2 separate regions of the Homo sapiens genome follow, and region 1 is linked to region 2. Evidence: promoter capture Hi-C in human tissues and cell types (Jung and others, 2019). All regions are on one chromosome and are shown on one strand. The core of a region is centred on a gene start or on the middle of the fragment in contact, and the rest is flanking DNA. Distances in the headings are between cores, read along the strand shown.

Region 1 (4,162 bases), core at 1,427-3,926, 63 kb before region 2:
TCTGATGGCGATACAAAGTATTACCCAAAAAACCGTGGTAATAAGGAACTTAAAAAAGGTACTGACATTTGCTTTGGGTGATGCAGCCGTGTGTCTCTGTCCGGATGGAAAGAGTGAGAGAGAGAGAGAGACTACCTTCCTGCACCTCTCTCTGTGTCAGCATTTTGCCCATTGCTCTGGTGGATTCTGAGAGAGTTTTGAGTATTTCGTAGTGGTCTTCCTATTCAGGGCGATTGGGAGAGGGCAATCCCTTCAGACTGGGGCGGAATTAGATCAGGTTTGAGTTTCATTCTGAGGAGGGCTCCCTGCAGCACTTATTCTCCCTATCTATGTGAGGCCTGCTGAGAAGGCATGCCAGGCAGCAGGGAGGAGTCCCCTGTCTGTTTGGATGTGGGAGGGGACATACAGGGGCACTGTGATTCAAATGCAGCAAGGACTGTAAAAGTTTTTGGTAGTTTTCTGGGATCTACCAGGAGGCCAGCAGATGTAGCTACTGTTTTGGGTTTCTGTGGGAGGCCATATACTAGCCTGACACAAAGGCATTCCTTCTTTCCAAAACTTCAGCGAAGAAAAAAAATATCCTTTTTTTGCTGCCATCCTGATCCAAAGAAAATAGAAGAAATAATTTTTAGTTTATTCAAATACTTATAAACAAGGGATGACTTTGAGCATTGTTTATATATTGGAATTATTTTTAGTTTATTTAGGTACTGAAGAATTTATTATACCTGGCCCTTCATAGAAGGATAAGCATGAAATGAGTGCTAATAAATAAATGTATTGTCAAGGGGAGCATCACTGTGGAGGAATTTCAATAGACTAAAATGCTGAGAACTTATGGTGACAGCTGTGGAGGAATTCACTTACTCCATTTCTTTTATGAAAACGGGTGCACTTGAAATTTTATGTATATATAACCTGAGTCTTCATGTGAGCACTGTATTGAAAATTATATTGAAAACATTGATAAGTTTGAGTATGTAAAAATATAAGAATTTCTGTCCATCAAAAGATACCCAAAAGAAAGTAAAAAGGTAAGCTACAAACTGTAAGGAACATAAATGTTCTTTGACAGGCAAATAGATAAATAAATTGTGATATATTCAAAGAATGAGCTACATATCAGGGAAAAGAAGTAAAATTCAGCTACACACAATAGTTGAATTTTAATAATAATAATATATTATGGATTGTAAAAGACAAATCTTAGAAGACTATGCATACCAAAGAAGACTTTGTTACCTCTTTTAAAAATAAAACTATTTTTTTCCCAGTTTTATTTTTCTCCCCAAAATTAAACTTTAAACAATAAAAATTACCATTATGCTACTTAGAAATACAAATAAATATGTTAAATTCTTGGGGAGTGGATAAGGAAAGGCAGGATGTGTGGGATTTTAGAGGAATACAGGAGTATTTAAATTTAAGTTATTGATGCTATTTTAGCTCTTGTATTTGTGAAGGACTCGTTATTTTTAAAATAAATGAATAAAAACATTACAATAAATAAACATTAAAGAGGGCTATAAAGATGCCAAAAATTTTGTATGGACCAAGATAATGGTATGCACCTCTGGTATATTAGAAAGGAAAAAAAAAACACACAAAAAAAACCCCCCACAAAAACCTATAGAACAATGGATATCGCAGCTGCAACTGGCATTATCTAGAAAGGAGTCAGCCTTCTCCAGCTGTTTCACTATATGTAGAGATGGTGTGGTACAATGGATATAGTTGAGGGTTTGGGATATGAATGTTGGCTTTATTACTTACTATTTAGAGAGACTTTGCTGGAAATTTGTAAGCACAAAACCAGAAAACAGCTATGAAGAATTAACTACTTAAATTTAATTACTTCTCTATGGCAAAATGTACCATACACAAATTAAAAGGTAAGTCCAACACTGGGAAAATATTTTATTACTTCTTTAGTTCAAAGATTTCTCTGGTGGGGCATGAGATAATCTTATGGGCAGTAAAGTACTTACCTGAAGGAGATTATAAAGTGACACTGTCTAATTTATAAGAGGATAAAGAAACCTAAGTTTGAAAAAAACTCAAGTTGCACATAACCTTGAGGTTCAGACATATTTAGACTTGTTTAGAAAAAGCAAAAGAGAAGATACTGGTCAAATAGCAACCAAATTTCAAGAATAGGCAGAAAGAATCTTCTTTCCCTAGTAGCCATGCTGAGCAACAAAGCTTAACATTGGGCTTAAGCATTTGCCTTGAACTCCATGGCAGAGTGAGTACTTTTCTGCTGAAAACATCTCTAAAATGGATATTTTTCATATTTTCTTAAATGATTTCATAAGCTTGCAAAAATTAAATAATATGGAACCAAGAAATTGAATTGAGAAGGGAGTCCTTTTAGGAAAAGAAACACTGAAACAGTTTCCACCTTGAGGGTATTTCCTGAACCATATGAACTTGAGTTATGCTTTTCATGGCCTTATGGAACTGAGAAATGGAAATTACTATCCAGAGTACCAGTGGTAAAAAACCTAATAAGAGACTCCTGCATCAATATGGGACTTCAAAGAATTGCGTCTTTACAATAACAGTGAGCTGGAAACAATCCCTACTCCCCAGTTGGATTGCAAGGAAAATGAACTGTTTTTAATTTAGTTAATGAGAAGATTGGGTGTGTGTGTGCAAGGGAGTCTCCTCTGAGATTTTGTAATCCCAAGCAGGCCCTCACTTAGTATATAGCCTGAATCATGGCACTCTGATGATATGAAAAATCTAAAGCTGAGAATCTAATTTACACAGGCCCAGACTGGTAATGCCCTTAGTTGCCTGACAGAAGTAAACATAAATATTCTCTGAAGAACTCATCTTAATCCTAGACCTCTTTAAAAAAGTTTAAAGAAAATGATCAGTTCGCAGACAAAAATCACAAAACTCTCAAGAAAATAAAGCATTATGAATGAGAAGCAGCAGAAAGAATAAATAGTAAACTCAAACCTGGAACAATTCAGATATTGAAGTTGTCAGTCACAGAATAGAAAGTAATTATCTTTATGGCTGGGCACATTGGCTCACGTCTGTAATCCCACACTTTGGGAGGGCAAGGTGGGCAGATCACCTGAGACTGGGAGTTCAAGACTAGCCTGGCCAACATGGTGAAACCCCCTCTCTGCTAAAAAAAAAAAATTAGCCAGGCGTGGTGGCATGTCCCCGTGATCCCATCCACTCGGGAGGCTGAGGCAGGAGAATCGCTTGAACCCAGAAGCCAGAGGTTGCAGTGAGATGAGATTGGGCCAGCCTGGGTGACAAAGCATTCCAGCCTGGGTGACAAAGCAAGACTCCATCTCAAAAAAAAAAAAAAAAAAGAAAAAATAATCATCTTTAATATGTTTCAAGAAAAAATCAAGACTTGAAATTATAAATAAAAAGCAAGCAGATCTTGGCCAAGTGCAGTGGCTCATGCCTGTAATCGCAGCACTTTAGGAGGTCGAGGCGGGTGGGTTGCCTGAGCTCAGGAGTTTGTGACCACCTGGGGCAAGATGATGAAACCCTGTCTCTACCAAAATACAAAAAATTAGCTGGATGTGGTGGTGCACACCTATAGTCTTAGCTACTGAGGGGGCTGAGGTGGGAGGATTGCTTGAGCCAGGGAGGTGGAGGTTGCAGTGAGCTGAGATCATGCCACTGCACTCCAGCCTGACTGACAGAGTGAGACCCCATCACAAAAAAAAAAAAAAAGGAAGCAGATCTGAAAAATAAATAGAAATAACTTGAAATAACGTGAAAATAAAAACTTGGATTTAACATTACATTAGACATAGCTGAAGAGAGAATTAGTGAATTAAGAGATTATTCAGAAGAAATTATTCAGAATTTAGTGCAGATAGACAAAAAGATTAAAAAAATAAAAGGGAGGTTAAGAGACATAGAAAATATAGTGAGAAGTCCTAAACATGTTTATTTGGAATTCTAGAAGGAAAGAGGAGAGAAAATGGGAGCAGAAGTAATAGTACCAGTTAACATGACTGAGAACTTGTGAACTGATGAAAAACACCAATCTTTCAGACTCAAAAAAAACCCTAATAAATCAAAACCAGGGTAAATATGAAAAATGCACATGTAGATAGAACACAGGGAAAATGTAGAATAATGAAAACAAGGAGAAGATCTGAAACCAGCTAGAGAAAAAGGT
Region 2 (4,133 bases), core at 701-3,200:
GTCTCTTTTTGGTCGTGAATGTGTGATAGTTTATCCTTTTCTTTAGGGACACAGCAAATATGTTTTTCCCCACATTTTTCTTTCTTCCTCTCAATTTCTTTGCATGATTTCCTGCATCTGCCAGTTCCATAATAGCACCTTCTGATCCATCCATCTATCAAAATAAGCAAACACATGAATATATAAATACATTTGAAAAATAAATACAATTAAAGAAAGGATGTTGGTAATAGTAATAATGGTTAGAGTGAAACATTGATTTTGACACTTAAAGGCATTCATGGGAATGTTATAAATTTGTGCATGTTTAATGACTAGGAGTAGTTATCTTCCTCTAATCAGCTCTAATTGAATTTTATTCCTATGCTTATGATACTTTCTTCTCTGTCATTTTTCACAGTCTCACTAAATCTGGTTCTACTTCCTCTCTAAATCTAGATGCTTGCCAGGGAGTGGGACTAAGCCTTCAATTATCTTTTTTATCCTCTCTCCATTCATTATTCATCTAACCACAATTTGTTGAGCATCTACTATGTGCCAGGCATTGTTTGTTCTAGGGGTGCTTGCCCCAGGGGTTGTTTAAAGCAAGACCCTGAACAATGGATGACCAATTTACATTTCTGAGCTGCAGGCTGAAGTTGTGTTTGTGTGTGTGTGTGTTGGGGGGTGGGTGCAGGGAGGGTTTAACACTGTGCCCTTCTCTGATTTATTTTCTGTGACTCTAAGTCAACGCAGACTGCAAACCCAGTTTTCTCAGCACATTGGATTCATTTGAGGGATCATTATATCTTAATCTAAACTACAGATTCTTTCCACTTGTCTTTTCCCCAAACTCTTCTTCTGGGAGATAATTCCTAATTCTCTGTCTTTTACCAGAATGTTCAGGCTGAAAAAAATCAGTCACATTGACTCTCACTTTTCTCTTCCAGTATTTCATAAGTCAATATGTAGATTCTTTCTCCAAAATGTCTCTTGCATCTGCAACTCCCTCTATTCTACTTGCCCTCGCTGGAACATAAGGCATGCTCAAGCCAACTCAGGGTTAGCCCAGAATAACCTTCTTTTGCTTCTAGAACAACTGAGTGATTGGCAAAGGCTTTCAGCTTGAATAGCTGCTCCAAGAGAGGATGTGACTTCCAACAGCAACGACCCAAAGGAAATCACAGAATTAAAAATCATCAACTTTAGAGCCCCTGGGAAGCCTAAGGGGAAAACATTTCCATTAGAAAGTTATTCACCACCTGGCCATGATGCCTGTTTATACTGTTAGAGAGCTTTGAGCGTGTTCAACTTGAAAGCCAAAATCTTCTGCTGTAACCCCAGCTCCATACTGTGAGCCTGTTTTTATAAACCTGTAGATATCAAACATCAACTTACAACTTTTTCACCATATATTCCAAGACAAGAGCAAGTTGCCTCTTCTGCCTGCTTTAAAGGAGCACTCAAAGCCCAACAACAGTGGAGAAGTGAAGTAATGAGACTGATTATTAGAAGAGGTAGTATCAACTGAAAGTGGGGTTGAAGTGAGAGACTCACAGGATGAGACTGTTGACATATGGGCCAGAGGCATTCAGGATACTAGAGATGTTGGGGTTGCTTCTGCATATGGAAGGGACTTCATATAAAACACCTTGGCCTCTGCAGATATTCTCCAGGTTCCCTAATGAGAACCACCACCATGGTCAGGCCTGACAGGCTGCCCTTCTTATGGGAGCATATTCATTATAAGCCTTTCATCAGATCTCAGCCATCCCTGTGGGCTCTCCTTGCTTCTACACATGTTCAATTTTCCAGTGATTCTGTGGTTAGGACCCCATCCTTACTCCCTTTTCCCTTCTCTCCATGGTTCTGTTTACCTGGGGCAGTCTGAGCCAGGACCACAAGGACAACTAAGGCCAGGACAGAGAGTTTAATGTCTCCTGAGAGGGGTGAGAAATGATCTGGCAGCATTCTGAGTGTGCTGGGGAAGCTGGGTGTGCACTCAGCATTTTATTGACCTAGGCAAGGCTGACTCACAGACAAAAAATTAGAGAAGGGCAGAATGTTACACCACCCAGAACATCAGCCTGCCACTCAGCAGTATAAACTGATTATCCGGTGTTCAGGGTCCTGCTCTAGATATCCTTGGGGATGGTGAAAGGCACGAGCAGAGGAGGTACAAGTCCTCTCCAAGGCTGTTGCACTGGCCAGAGAACAGATCCCTTCTCCAAGAAGCCTTTCCTGTCCCTCTCCTTCAGAATTTATCCCCCTCCCCTACATTCTCACAGCTGCTGTTTTCTTTTTCTCTGTGTGTTTATCATGACACACTGGAACTAAGTGTTTTTCTAGTTCCTCCTCCCATTCAGAATGATACCCTAAGGGAAACTTTTAATAGACAGTGAGACCCCTGAGGTTAGGAACAGGCTGTCATTTTGGTACACCCAGAGCATACAGTGAACATGTGTTGAAAAGCACTGAGTGAGTGAACGCACATGTGGCATATAATTGTATCCCAGTAGCTCTTAGAATTGGCATTTCCCAGCTAAGAAAATGCAGGCTGAGAGTGGAAAAGAATTGTCTAGGGTCCTACCATGAGCAAGAAAGAAACGGACTGGGGTGGAAGCCCTCATAACCCAACTCGTTGTCCAGCTCTTAACTCTGAATTTGTATCCTATTTTCCTGCTCCAAATCCTTCATATCAACCATTTCTGGGTCTTTCTTGGACTCCAGCCTCAAACAACAAAGCAAAAAATATTTCATGCTGTTTTTCCAACAAAAAGAAGAGGGCACTGCCCAGGCTCCATTAGGAGGGCTGCCTGTGGGCCCACTGGATCTTCCTTTTTGGGTTCCTTGTCCTTTTCCGCCTTTGGGTGAGTCCAGTGTGCATCGGTTTTACTCTCCTCTTTCTACATGCAGGCAGCGGACCTGATGGGGTTCAGGAAATTTGTTTTGCTTTTAGGATTTGGACAGAACTTTCTTCAGGAAAGCAATGAACATCAATGTCATCCACTGAACTTTCACTGTCAGGCAGCAACTATGCTAAGCACTTTATATATATGACCCCCTGGAATCCTCACAGGAGCCCTGTTAGGCAGGTGTGATGTGCTCAGGGTTACACAGTGACTATGAGTGAGGTCTGGATTCAGATCTGGGTTACCTGTCCCCAGATAACATGTTCTTTCTGTCATCCCAGAGGATTATGCCTGAGCAATGATGGAAGGAGAGGTCTGTTTAACTTGAAAAGCAGTAAACAGCTGGAGAGAGTCATAATTGCTGTCTTCAAGTATCTGAAAGGCATGTTCTCTGTAGGCCCACAGGGCAGAACTAATAGGCCTGAGTGGAAACTGCAAGGGCACAAGTTTTGAAACTCATCAGAAAGACCTCTGAAGATGGGAACCATCTGGAAAATGGTTAGACTGCCTGGAGGAGCTAGCTGGTGGCTCCTGCTGTTTTAAAGCTGCAAACTGAGACGACATGACCACTCCCCTCAGATTCTGCAGGGAGGATGGCTGAATTGGCTGCATGTGGGTCTGTGCACTGGCACAATTCTAGGCACTGAGCTTAAGAGAAGAAAGCAAAGTCCGGCCATTCTAATTAGGGAGAGGGACAACATATAGTGTCAGTTGGTGATAAGTGCTATAAAGAAAAATAGGGAAAGGAGAATAGAGAATAATATACTTGTGTGTGTGTGTATGATAATATGTGTGTGCGGGTGTGCGTGTGAAAGGCACACAGGATTGAGTGTAGAGTAAGAGGAATAGAGAATATTGATATACATCTGTGGGTGTGTGTGTGTGTGTAAGGCACATAGGATTGAGTGCAGTATAAGGGGAATAGAGAATAATATGATATACGTGTATGTGTGGGTGTGTGTGTGTAAGGCACATAGGATTGAGTGCAGTATAAGGGGAATAGAGAATAATATGATATACGTGTATGTGTGAGTGTGTGTGTGACACACAGGTTTGAGTGCAGAGTAAGGGGAACAGAATAATATACATGTGTATGTGTGAGTGTGAGTGTGTGTGTGTGTTAGGCACACAGGATTGAGTGCACAGTAAGGGGAATAGAGAATAACATGATATATGTGTGTGTGGCTATTTTGAGCAGGAGGGTCAAGTAAGGACTCATTGAGGAAGTGGCATAGGGCAGAA

What was found. The method cuts DNA at HindIII sites, captures the fragments that hold promoters and counts their contacts. A contact is called where the count stands out against the background at its distance.
Region 1: a fragment that was not itself captured here is called in contact with the fragment with the promoter of DEFB115 in region 2 in 2 of the 25 tissues and cell types used here (dorsolateral prefrontal cortex and mesendoderm cells).

What each region holds. Positions count from the first base shown.
Region 1 is chr20:31,318,895-31,323,056 of GRCh38, reverse strand. No RefSeq gene overlaps it. Among named protein-coding and RNA genes, the nearest start is that of DEFB116, 12 kb to the right of the region's middle. The HindIII fragment of the contact is 4,475 bases long and covers 439-4,162 here.
Region 2 is chr20:31,255,481-31,259,613 of GRCh38, reverse strand. DEFB115 (defensin beta 115) reads right to left here and starts at 1,950. Exons shown (of 2, transcript NM_001037730.1): 1 at 1,857-1,950; 2 at 1-154. The coding sequence starts at 1,950. The HindIII fragment of the contact is 11,769 bases long and covers 1-4,133 here.